Linked DNA regions of Homo sapiens: region 2 is linked to region 1. Evidence: promoter capture Hi-C in human tissues and cell types (Jung and others, 2019). All regions are on one chromosome and are shown on one strand. Each heading gives the region's core, a stretch centred on a gene start or on the middle of the fragment in contact. The rest is flanking DNA. Distances are from core to core; before and after follow the strand shown.

Evidence for each region. The method cuts DNA at HindIII sites, captures the fragments that hold promoters and counts their contacts. A contact is called where the count stands out against the background at its distance.
Region 2: a fragment that was not itself captured here is called in contact with the fragment with the promoter of CYP2A6 in region 1 in 2 of the 25 tissues and cell types used here (H1 embryonic stem cells and mesenchymal stem cells).

What each region holds. Positions count from the first base shown.
Region 1 is chr19:40,846,933-40,853,322 of GRCh38, reverse strand. CYP2A6 (cytochrome P450 family 2 subfamily A member 6) reads left to right here and starts at 2,876. Exons shown (of 9, transcript NM_000762.6): 1 at 2,876-3,076; 2 at 3,343-3,505; 3 at 4,560-4,709; 4 at 4,944-5,104; 5 at 6,272-6,390. The coding sequence starts at 2,897. RefSeq lists enhancers at 450-484, 1,680-1,708, 4,518-5,017 and promoters at 2,761-2,897, 1,878-2,897. The HindIII fragment of the contact is 10,166 bases long and covers 1-6,390 here.
Region 2 is chr19:41,147,105-41,153,260 of GRCh38, reverse strand. The region is part of intron 2 of LOC124904790; the gene reads left to right. Among named protein-coding and RNA genes, the nearest start is that of CYP2F1, 36 kb to the right of the region's middle. The HindIII fragment of the contact is 5,706 bases long and covers 1-5,266 here.

The DNA.
Region 1 (6,390 bases), core at 1,627-4,126:
ATCCTACAGATTAAAGAGAACAACTACCATTCATTGAGCACTTACTGCCATGTACCTCATCTGCATTAACACTTATACTTCTCCCCTAAATAGCCAAAGAGGTAGGAGCTGTTCTTGGCTCCATAAGACTCAGAGAGATGAAGTCAGCTGTTCAAAGCCACACAACAAAGAAAGGATAAGGTTAGGATTCCAATCCAGGCCTTAATCATTGCACCATCCATTCAGAAAGGGAAACTGAGGCCCAGCAAAGGAAAGGGATCTTCCTGGGCTCGCCACTAACTCACTCTGAAAGCCTGTTCCCAAGACACTGCCCACTGGGACAAGTCCCTCCCACATGATTTCAGACACCATTCTCTCACTCCATGCTCTAGGGTAATCAACAAGTCCAAAATTCATTGACCTCTATGTCCACAAATACTAGAGTTCTCCCAACCTGTCTCTCCCCATCCCCTCCCTGGCCAGGTCATGGCAACCTGCTGATCACTCAGTGCACTTCCTAGTGCCAACCCCAGTGAGAAACAAACTCCCCAGATTTCTGTCTCCCACCTTTTTAAGAAACACGAAGGAAAAGGAGGAGCCAGGCCCAGGTGCAGACTGGTGAACAGGATTAGAGCGATTGATATCTGCCAAGCTGGTGCTAATCTTCCTTCCCACCTCTTCCCCTCCAAAATCAACAAACAACTTTCCTCTCTCTGCCTTGTTCTCTGACCTTTGTTCCCTCCACACAGGTCTCAGAGCTCAGCATCCTAGAACAGTTTGAGCAAGATGTCAGTCCTGGGGGTGCCAACCTCACCCACCTCCACTTGTCCAAAGTTGGTGACCCAGAGGACAGGTGCAACCCTAAATGGTCCAACCACCACAGCCTGTCCTGTGGCCATCTGGGGCCCCTCTCAGGGTCTGGCTGAGGCTCATCTCAGACCCACATAGGACCAATATCAGCACCTGCCTCATGCTCATGTCACAGCCCACTGGGACCAACCTCAGACCCTATATGGTGCCACCCTTACGCCCTCCTGAAGCAGGACACTCTTATGCCCTCAATGACACCTGAGACAACACACAGAGCCCTCTTGGCACCAAACATGACTTCAATATTCTCCTGGTGTCAAGTTCAGTGCCAACTTGTTTCCCATCCTCGCATACACCTGGGGGCAGTCCCAAAGCCAACACGATGCCTTTCCCTCCCTGGCCATACCTGATGCTGATATCAGAACCCACCAATGTCATCAGTGTGTCCACTGCTGATGCCAGTCCCAGCACTCACCTCCTGCTAAGGCTGGCCTGCACTTGACTCCCAGGGTGATCTAGGCCAGTCAATGAAGGGGGGTGAGGAGAAAGTTCACATCCCAGCTCCCTCACTTACTCCCTGTGTGACCTCACTCAAGAGGATTTATGGAGTCTAGATCTGCTCATCTTCAAAATGAGGATGATCATGATGAACCAACCTCATTGTTACAAAGATTCAACCAGATCATACACACCTAGACTTAATCTTCCCGTATACGACCATGCTCACCAAAGGGTAACTGTCCTGTTTACTAAGGAAGAATTTCCCTGAGGGAAGGACAGGAGGGCTACTCATCCCTTCTCCACTCACACCCACCCCAGGATCTGCCTCTGTGCCTAATACTGGAGTTTACCCCAATCTCTTCTGCCACTGTTCCCTCTGCCTGCTAATAGTAGTAGCCCCTGACAAAGCAGGAATCATTCTTAAAGGAGACTTAACTCACCCTCGAATGTGATCTTCTCTTCCCAAACACTCCCTTTCCACTGGCAGGAAAACCAAATCCAGAAAGGGGAACTAAGTACACAGAGCAGGAGAGATGGGAGTTCAGGGCCACTCACACATGTCCCCTGCCCACTGTCTGTTTTCTGTCCTCTGTAGATCTTTATATAAAATGAGAAACATAAACAACAATCATAATATTAATAGGGATGATACAATCAATCTAGTGGGTTTCCCTGAGGATCTGGGTTGGAAACCAGCGGACAACCCTTGGGACACTTGAGATTTTTCCACCATTTGGGGGTTGTTATTACTATTTCTCCAGACCTAGCCAATCCCTCTGCCAACCGCTAACTCCAGGTACTCTTCTCCAGGTGTGGGGAAAGTTCCCCTGAAATATGGCTCTGGTCTTCCTCCCCTTCCCAATCAGAGATGGGCAGTGGAGGTTCTATGGCACCCATCCTGGCCTCACTCTGAGGTTCCAATGAGGATTCTGGGCATCAAGAGACAGCTCTGGGCAAAAGCAAAATCAAGTCAGCCCCTGGACCCAGTGCTGGGCTGCTGGGCTTTCTGGGAGAACCCGCTGGGCTTGCTACACACTCCTCCTCCCAGAAACTCCACACCCACAGCCCTGGGTCTTCCTAGCCCCGAGACTTTCAAGTCCATATGCCTGGAATCCCCCTTCCTGAGACCCTTAACCCTGCATCCTCCACAACAGAAGACCCCTAAATGCACAGCCACACTTTGTCTTACCCTAATAAAACCCAGACCTTTGGATTCCTCTCCCCTGGAACCCCCAGATCCACAACTTTGGGGTGCATTCTCACTCTCAGACCCCAAATCCAAAGCCCAAGTGCTCCCCTATGCAAATATTCCAAACTCCTCAGTTCTACAGCTTATCTGTTGCCCCCTCCTAAATCCACAGCCCTGCGGCACCCCTCCTGAAGTACCACAGATTTAGTCTGGAGGCCCCCTCTCTGTTCAGCTGCCCTGGGGTCCCCTTATCCTCCCTTGCTGGCTGTGTCCCAAGCTAGGCAGGATTCATGGTGGGGCATGTAGTTGGGAGGTGAAATGAGGTAATTATGTAATCAGCCAAAGTCCATCCCTCTTTTTCAGGCAGTATAAAGGCAAACCACCCCAGCCGTCACCATCTATCATCCCACTACCACCATGCTGGCCTCAGGGATGCTTCTGGTGGCCTTGCTGGTCTGCCTGACTGTAATGGTCTTGATGTCTGTTTGGCAGCAGAGGAAGAGCAAGGGGAAGCTGCCTCCGGGACCCACCCCATTGCCCTTCATTGGAAACTACCTGCAGCTGAACACAGAGCAGATGTACAACTCCCTCATGAAGGTGTCCCAAGGCAGGGAGATGGGTGGCACGGGGTGGGGGCTGCCTAGTTGGCTGGGGCTTTGTGGCAGGGGGTTGACCAGTGTGGACCAGAGTCTTAGGAAATGGAGTTTTGGAGTTTCAGCATCAGAAAGACAGGATCTTGGGATGTCCAGCTCCCTGACTGTGAGAACCTGGGTGCGAAGCATCCCAGCACATGACATCTCGGTGCTGGGCCCCATTCAGAGTGGAGGCTTCTCCCTCTAACCACTCCCACCCACCTCCATCAGATCAGTGAGCGCTATGGCCCCGTGTTCACCATTCACTTGGGGCCCCGGCGGGTCGTGGTGCTGTGTGGACATGATGCCGTCAGGGAGGCTCTGGTGGACCAGGCTGAGGAGTTCAGCGGGCGAGGCGAGCAAGCCACCTTCGACTGGGTCTTCAAAGGCTATGGTGAGGGGGTGCCCAAGAGGGGGAAGGTGGCCAGGTGGACACGAAGGTCTCAGTGTTCCCAGCCTTCTCCCTGACTCTCCTGCCAACTGGAGGCTAAGGCAGAGTCCCCAGTCTGGTCTTCCCTCCCCATCTCCCTTCATTGTGGCCTCTCCATGTGTATCCCTCACCTGTCTCCAGCGTCCCTGTCCTGATTCCTCCCTGCCTCTCTCTGCCCCACCTCCTTATTCTCTCTCACTGGAGTCTCCTCTTTCCCCTCTCTCTCCATCTCTAAGGACATCCTGGGTTTCTGTTTTCCAGCCCTGGTTCTCTGTCTTCATTTGTCTTTTTGTCCCTCTTAGCTTCTGGGCTTCTCTGTGTTTCTCATCTCTCCGCATCCCTTTCTCACTTCTTCCTCTGTCTTAGGATTTCAGGGTATTCCTACTTCCACATCTTCAGCCTCCATCTCCTGGTAACAGTCTCTCTTCCTTCCAGACCCTCTCTGTTTCTATCTCAATATTTTTCTCTCTTCTCCAGCTCAGCTTAAGAATCTTTCACCATTTTTATTTCCTCCTCCCAGATCTCCCCATATCTCACTTCCCCTCCCTCCATCCTCTTCCTCCATCACTCTCTTTCTCTCCCCACTTCCTTCCCTTCCTCCATGGAGTGTCCCCTTATCCCTCTGTTTCTATGTGCATCTCTCTGTCTGGCCTTTCTGTTTCTTTTCTGATTGTCTTATTCTTTAAACCTGGTCTCTCTCTCTCTCTCTCTCTCTCTCTCTCTCTCTCTCTCTCTCCTCTCTCTCTTCTCTCTCTCTCTCCTCTCTCTCTTCTCTCTCTCTCTCTCTCTCTCTCCTCTCTCTCTTCTCTCTCTCTCTCTCTCTCTCTCTCTCTCTCTCTCTACCTCGACATCGTGTTTCTCTGACTGAGTTTGCAGCTCTGCTGGGCAATGGCGCTGAATCCATCTCTCTCCCACCCTACTCCCTCTCTCCTCCACCCTTGGGGAGCCCCTTGGAGCTGCTCCGCTCCTGCCCCTGCCGCCCCCTGGCCTGTCTCCATTCCCGCGTTCACCTCCCCAGGCGTGGTATTCAGCAACGGGGAGCGCGCCAAGCAGCTCCGGCGCTTCTCCATCGCCACCCTGCGGGACTTCGGGGTGGGCAAGCGAGGCATCGAGGAGCGCATCCAGGAGGAGGCGGGCTTCCTCATCGACGCCCTCCGGGGCACTGGCGGTGAGCAGGGGACCCCGAGTGCGGGGGCAGGAGAAGGAAAACACCCAGGACGAGGAACCCGCGCGCGTTCTGCCTGGGGATGGGGACTAGGTGGGGAAAGGCGCCCGCACTTCCAGCCCTGGAGTCTGGCGCTGGGAATTTGGCTCAACAAGGCCCTGCCTCCTGGAATTCTGACTCTCCTCAGACCTCTGAGTTGACTCTCTCCCCAACCCCCTTCTCCCGCCATACCCGCAGGCGCCAATATCGATCCCACCTTCTTCCTGAGCCGCACAGTCTCCAATGTCATCAGCTCCATTGTCTTTGGGGACCGCTTTGACTATAAGGACAAAGAGTTCCTGTCACTGTTGCGCATGATGCTAGGAATCTTCCAGTTCACGTCAACCTCCACGGGGCAGGTAACTGGCTGCAGCCCGGCCCGTGACGCCCCTACCACAACCTGCCAACTGCTCCCCTACCTGGAGACAGGTGCCCCAAACTCCCACCGCCCTCCAGACAGTGTCCCCTCAAAATCAGTCCCCGATATTGGACAACTGGACAGTTGCACCAGAACCCAGGATGGATGTCCAATACCCTGTCTCCAAGGACACCTGGATAGCTCAACAGATGCTCCCCAAAACAGAGCCTGCTGGCAGGATGCATACCCTCAGCTCAGCTCTCTCACCTGGGCACGTGTTCCCATCCCCAACTTACCGTAATTTCTAACAGATGCTCCCTACCCAGTTCTTCTGAATATTTTAACACCTGGACAAGTGACTGCGTCAACCGGCCTCCTGCATACCTGAACACCTGGTGCTGCAAAATCCAGCCCATCATAATCATTTCACATCTACACAAATGTCCCAGATTAGCCCACTGGAATATCTGGCCAAGCGCCCTCTACTTCACCCACTTAAATACCTGAAAACATGGACAGCTGCCCTAACCAACACCTTAAACACATAAATATCTAGACAGATTGTTCCCTGACACACAAATAAGTGTTCCCCAACCCTTTCCAATCACACACCTTACAGAGGTGCTCCCAGTGCATCCCACTTGGATAGGTAAACACCTCAACAGGTATCCCCTCCACTTCAACATCTTCACCAGCCCCACTTTAATACCTGAGCACCTGAACAAAAGCCCCCAATCCAGACCCAGTAAGTATCTGGACAGCTGTCTCCAACCAAGCCTACTTGAATGCCTAAATACCTAGACAGGTGACACTCACCTCATACCAGCCCCACCTGAAGAGCTAAACACCTGGACAGGTGTCTTCCAACTCAACTTCACTTGAATATCTGAACACCTAGATGTGTGCTCCAATCCAGCCTCGTTTAAATACCTGAAACCTGGATATATGTCTCAGTTCTTCTCACCTAAATTACTAGACCGTGGCCCTGGTACCTAACCTTCCTGAAAACTTAGATATAAGTTCCTATCCGGCCCCACTGAAATACCTAAACAACGAGACAGATGCCTTTAACTCAGTTCCTTCCTTGCTATGAAACAAATCCCATTCCCATCAGCTCCTGCCCCGTGACAGCTGTCCTTCCCTTCCCATCCTCTCTCTGCAACCCCAGCTCTATGAGATGTTCTCTTCGGTGATGAAACACCTGCCAGGACCACAGCAACAGGCCTTTCAGTTGCTGCAAGGGCTGGAGGACTTCATAGCCAAGAAGGTGGAGCACAACCAGCGCAC
Region 2 (6,156 bases), core at 1,164-3,663, 300 kb before region 1:
ATGGTTTGATGTGCTTTGAAAAATGCATGTACCTGTATAATAAAAACACCCATCAAGATAGAGCACTATCATCACCGCAAAAAGTCCCCTCATGTCCCTTCTCAGTCAGTGTCTCAGAAACAACAACTCTTTTGTCCCACCTCCCCACATAAGTTAGTTTTGTCTGTTATAGAACGTTAAATAACCAGCATTTCCTTTTCTTTTTTTTTGAGACAGAGTTTTGCTCTTGTTGCGCAGGCTGGAGTGCGGTGGTGCAACCTCGGCTCACTGCAACCTCCACCTCCTGGGTTCAAGTAATTCTCCTGCCTCAGCCTCCCGAGCAGTTGGGATTATAGGCATGTGCCACCATGCCCAGCTAATTTTTTGTATTTTTAGCAGAAATGGGGTTTCACCATTTTGGCCAGGCTGGTCTGGAACTCCTGGCCTCAGGTGATCCACCTGCCTCGGCAGCCCAAATAACCAGAATTATACCATAAGTACTCTTGTGTGCAAGACTTGCTTTACTCAGCACAATGTTTTTGAAATGTATCTATGTTGTTGCGTGATGCTAATTTTATTTTTTTTGAGACAGGGTCTTGTTCTGTTGCCCACGCTGGAGTGCAGTGGTGCAATCTCTGGCTCACTGCAGCCCTGACCTCCTGGGCTCAAGAAATCCTACCACCTCAGCTTCCCAAGTAGCTGGGTTACAGGTGCACACCATCTCACCCGGCTAGTTTTCATGTTTTTGTAGAGACAGGGTCTCCTGATGTTGCCCAGGCTGGTCTTGAAGTCCTGGGCTCAAGTGATCCTCCAAGTGCTGGGATTACAGGAGTAAGCCACCGCCTCTGGCCTGCCAAACTTTTTTGTTTGTTTGTTTTTTGAGATGGAGTCTTACTCTGTCACCCAGGCTGGAGTGCAATGGTGTGGTCTCAGCCCACTGCCACCTCCACCTCCCGGGTTCAAGCAATTCTCCCGCCTCAGCCTCCTGAGTAGCTGGGATTACAGGTGCCTGCCACCACGGCTGGCTAATTTTTGTATTTTTAGTAGAGACGGGGTTTCACTGTGTTGGCCAGGCTGGTCTCGAACTCCTGACCTCGTGTTCCACCCGCGTCGGCCTCCCAAAGTGCTGGGATTACAGGCACGAGCCACTGCGCCTGGCCTGCTAAACTTTTAAGAAATTTGCAGAAACTTTTTCTAAGCAGTTGTACGTTTTATACACCCATAGTCATGAACGAGAGTTCTGGTGATCCTTGCCAGCACTAGGTGCTGTTTGCATATTTCCATTTAGCCTTTCTTATGGGTGTGTGGTGGTATCTCAGTGTGGTTTTAATTTGTGTTTCCTGTTGGCTAATGACATTAAACACCTTTTTATAGCCTGTTGGCCATTTTTTGGTTGGGCTTTTTTTTTTTTTTTTTTTTTGGAGACGCAGTCTCACTCTGTCGCCCAGGCTGGAGTGCAGTGGCGCGATCTCGGCTCACTGCAAGCTTCGCCTCCCAGGTTCACGCCATTCTCCTGCCTCAGCCTCCCGAGTAGCTGGGACTACAGGCGTGTGCCACCATGCCCGGCTAATTTTTTGTATTTTTTTAGAAGAGACAGGGTTTCACCATGTTAGCCAGGATGGTCTCGATCTCCTGACCTCGTGATCCACCCCACCTTGGTCTCCCAAAGTGCTGGGATTACAGGTGTGAGCCACCGTGCCCGGCTGGTTGGGCTTTTTTTTTTTTTTTTTTATTGAGCCATAGGAGTTGTTTAGATATTTCAGGCACGGGTTATTTTGTGAGATATATGTGTTGTGAATATTTTCTTCTGGTCTGTGCCTGGTCTATATATCTTCTTTTCTTTTCCTTTCTTTCCTTTTTTTTTTTTTTGATGGAGTCTCTCTCTGTTGCCCATGCTGGAGTGCAGTGGCACAATGTTGGCTCACTGCAACCCCTGCCTCCTGGGTTCAAACAATTCTCCTGCCTCAGCCTCTTGAGTAGCTGGGATTACAGGCGTGTGCCACCACACCCGGCTAATGTTTATATTTTTAGTAGAGATGGGGTTTGGCCAGACAGGTCTCAAACTCCTGACCTCGGGTGATCTGCCTGCCTTGGCCTCCCAAAGTGCTGGAATCACAGGTGTGAGTCACCACGCCTGGCCGGTCCGTATATTTTCTTAATGCTGGTTTTGGATGAGCAAAAGTACTACTATTATTTATTTATTTATTTTAAATATAGAGACTGGTTCTCACTACGTTGCCCAGGCTGGTTTAGAACTCCTGGGTTCAAGCAATCCTCCCACCTTGGCCTCCTAAAGTGTTGGGATTAGAGGCATGAGCCACCGTGCCTGGCTGAAAGTATTATTTTTGACTAAGTCCAGTTTGTCAATTTTTTCCTTTATGATTAGTGATTTTTGAGTCCCATGTTAAAAAAAAAAAAAGATCTACTTCAAGGTTTTGAAAATATGTTTTTAGAAGTTCTTTAGCTTTAGTCTGTACTTTTAGATCTCTGACCTATTTCAAGTTAATTTTTGTGTATGATGTGAAGTAAAAGGCAGGGTTCGTTTTGTTTCCATGAGGCTATTTAGTCATTCTACCATTTGTTGAAAATACTGGCCAGGTGTGGTGGCTCACACCTGTAATCCCAGCACTTTGGGAGGCCAAGGTGGGTGAATCACAAGGTCAGGAGTTCGAGACCAGCCTGGCCAACATGGCGAAACCCCGTCTCTACTAAACATACAAAAATCAGCTGGGCATGGTGATGCATGCCTGTAGTCCCAGCTACTCGGGAGGGTGAGGCAGGAGAATTGCTTGAACTGGGACCCGGGAGGCAGAGTTTGCGGTAAGCCAAGATTGAGCCACTGCACTCCAGCCTGGGCTACAGAGCAAGACTCCTCAAAAAAAAAAAAAAAAAAAAAAAAGAAAAAAAAAGAAAAAGAAAATACTGTCTTTTCTCCACTGAATTATCTTAGCATCTTTGTCAGTAATCAATTGAAAGCAGGTGAGGGAGGCTGAGGCAGGAGGATCGCTTGAGTCCAAGAGTTTGAGACCAGCCTGTTAAACACAGTGAGACCCCCAACTCTAAGAAAAAAAAATTCTATTGACCACATATTTATGGACTTCCTAGTTTATTCCATTCATCTCTTTCTATCGGAATCCCAGTACACCTTGCCTTTATTACTGTAGTGTGTGTGTGTGGTTTTTTGTTTTTTTGAGACAGAGTCTTGCCCTGTCACCCAGGCTGGAGTGGAGCAGTGCCATCATGACTCACTGCAGCCTAGACCTCCTGGGCTCAAGCGGTCCTCCCACCTCAGCCTCCTGAATAGCTAGGACCACAGGCACATGCCATCATGCCTGGCTAGTTTTTTAAGTTTTTGTAGAGATGGGTTCTCACTATATTGCCCAGGCTGGTCTTGAACTTCTAAGCTCAAGTGAACTTCTGGGCTCTTGCATTGGCCTCCCAAAGTGGTGGGATTACAGGCATGAGCCACAGTGCCCAGCCTATTACTGTAGTTTTATTATAAATTTTGATATTAATATAAATCCTTCCATTTGGCTTTTCTTTTTCTTTTTTTTTTTTTTTTTGAGACGAAGTTTCACTCTGTCCAGGCTGCTGGAGTGCAGTGGCGCGATCTTGGCTCACTGCAAGCTCCACCTCCTGGGTTCACGCCATTCTCCAGCCTCAGCCTCCCAAGTAGCTGGGACTACAGGCGCCCACCACCACGCCTGGCTAATTTTTTTGTATTTTTAGTAGAGACGGGGTTTCACTGTGTTAACCAGGATGATCTCCATCTTCTGACCTCGTGATCCACCCACCTCGGCCTCCCAAAGTGCTGGGATTACAGGCATAAACCATAAACCACTGTGCCCGGCCTCTTTTTTTTTTTTTTTTTTTTTTTTTTTTGAGTGGGAGTCTCACTCTGCCACCCAGGCTGGAATGCAGTGGTGCAATCTCAGCTCACTGCAACCTCTGCTTCCCGGGTTCAAGTGATTCTTGTGTCTCAGCCTCCCAAGTAGCTGGGATTACAGGCACAAGCCCCCACACTCGGCTAATTTTTTGTATTTTTAGTAGAGACGGAATTTCACCATTTTGGTCAGGCTAGTCTCGAACTTCTGACCTCAGGTGATCCGCCCGCCTTGGCCTCCCAAAGTGCTGGGATTATAGGCATGAGCCACTGTGCCAGCCTGGTTTTTCTCTTTTTTTTTCTTTTTTTTTGAGACAGGGTCTTGCTCTGTCTCCCAGGCTGGAGTGCAGTGGTACCATCTCGGCTCCCCGCAACCTCTGCCTCCTGGGTTCATGTGATTCTCCTGCCTCAGCCTCCTGAGTAGCTGGGACTACAGGCGTGCGCCACCACACTTGGCTCATTTTTGTATTTGTAGTAGAGATGGGGTTTACCATGTTGGCCAGGCTGGTCTTGAACTCCTGACCTCAGGTGATCTGCCTGCCTCAGCCTCCCAAAGTGCTGGGATTACAGGTGTGAACCACTGCGCCCAGTCTGGTTTTTCTTTTTCAAGATGTTTGGCTCTTGTTGATCCTTTACATTGCCATATAAATTGTAGCCTCAGCTTGACAATTTCTATAAATAAATAAATAAATAAATAAAGCTTGCTGGTATTTCAATTTTGTCTGGGATTCATTTACTCTACAGATGAACACTATTATCTTTTATTACTATTATTATTTTTTGAGATGGAGTTTCACTCTTTGCCCAGGCTGGAGTGCAGTGGCGCTATCTCTGCTCAATGCAACCTTCATTTCCCGGGTTCAAGCTGTTCTCCTACCTCAGTCTCCCTAGGGATTATAGGTGTGTGCCACCATGCCCAGCTAATTTTTTTGTATTTTTAGTAGAGATCGGTTTCACCATGTTGCCCAGGCTGGTCTCGAACTTCTGACCTCAAGTGATCCACCCGCCTCGGGCTCCCAAAGTGCTGGGATTACAGGTGTGAGCCACTGCGCCTGGGCTGGAGCACTAATATCTTAATATTGAGTAATCTGATTCTTGAACATGGTGGATCTCGCCCCTTACTCAAGTCTTATTCTGTTTCCTTCTTTAATGTTTTGTGGTTTTCAGTGTACTGGTTTTGCACATATTTTATTAAATGTATCTCTTAGTATTTCATGATTCAGATGTGATGGGAAATTTTATATATACATATGTATATATGTGTGTGTGTGTGTGTGTATATATATATATATATATATATATATATATATTTTTTTTTTTTTTTTTTTTTTTTTTTTTTTTTTTTTTGAGATGGAGTCTCACTCTGTAGCCCAGGCTAGAGTAAAGTGGTGCGATCTTGGCTCACTGCAACCTCCGCCTCCCGGGTCCTGGTCCAAGCAATTCTCCTGCCTCAGCCTCCCGAGTAGCTGGGATTACAGGCATAAGCCATCATGCCCAGCTAATTTTTGTATTTTCAGTAGAGACAGGGTTTCACCTTGTTGGCTAGGCTGGTCTTGAACTCCTGACCTCGTGATTCACCCTCCTTGGCCTCCCAAAGTGCTGGGATTACAGGCATGAGCCACCGTGCCCGGCCGGGGAATTATATATTTTTAAATGTCAATACAAAAAGGGCATACAACAAATGAATATAGCTCAATGAATTGATACCAAGTGTACACCCAGGTTAAGAGACAGAATGTTGCCTACATGCCAGATGCCTGCTACTGTTTCTCCCATGACTATCCCCTCCCTTCTTCCAATGGAAAGGATTTTTTTTACACTTTTATAGCATTTTAGCATTTCATGATTGGTTTAGCATTTCACTTCCTAAGTATGCATAATTAAATGCCTGTTTTGGGGCACTTTGCACAAAAGGAACAAGTAATACGTATTGTTTTACGTCTGGCTCCTTTGCTCAAAATTATGTTTCTTAGATTTATCCTGTTTATTGTATATTGTTCATTCATTTTCCTTGCTTTATACTAATTCGTGTTATGAATATATGACACTTAATCTGTTCTCCTTTGCCTTCATTTTTAGGTATCACCTACATACAGTAGAATGCAAAGCTTTTAAGCACACAGCTTACTGAGACATGTCCATAATAGATATAGGCATCCAGGCATGGTGGCTCATGCTTGTAATCCCAGCACTTTGGGAGGCCGAGGCGGGTGGCTCACTTGAGGTCAGGAGTTTGAGACCAGCCTGGCCAGCATGGCAAAACCCCATCTCTACTAAAAACACAAACAATTAGC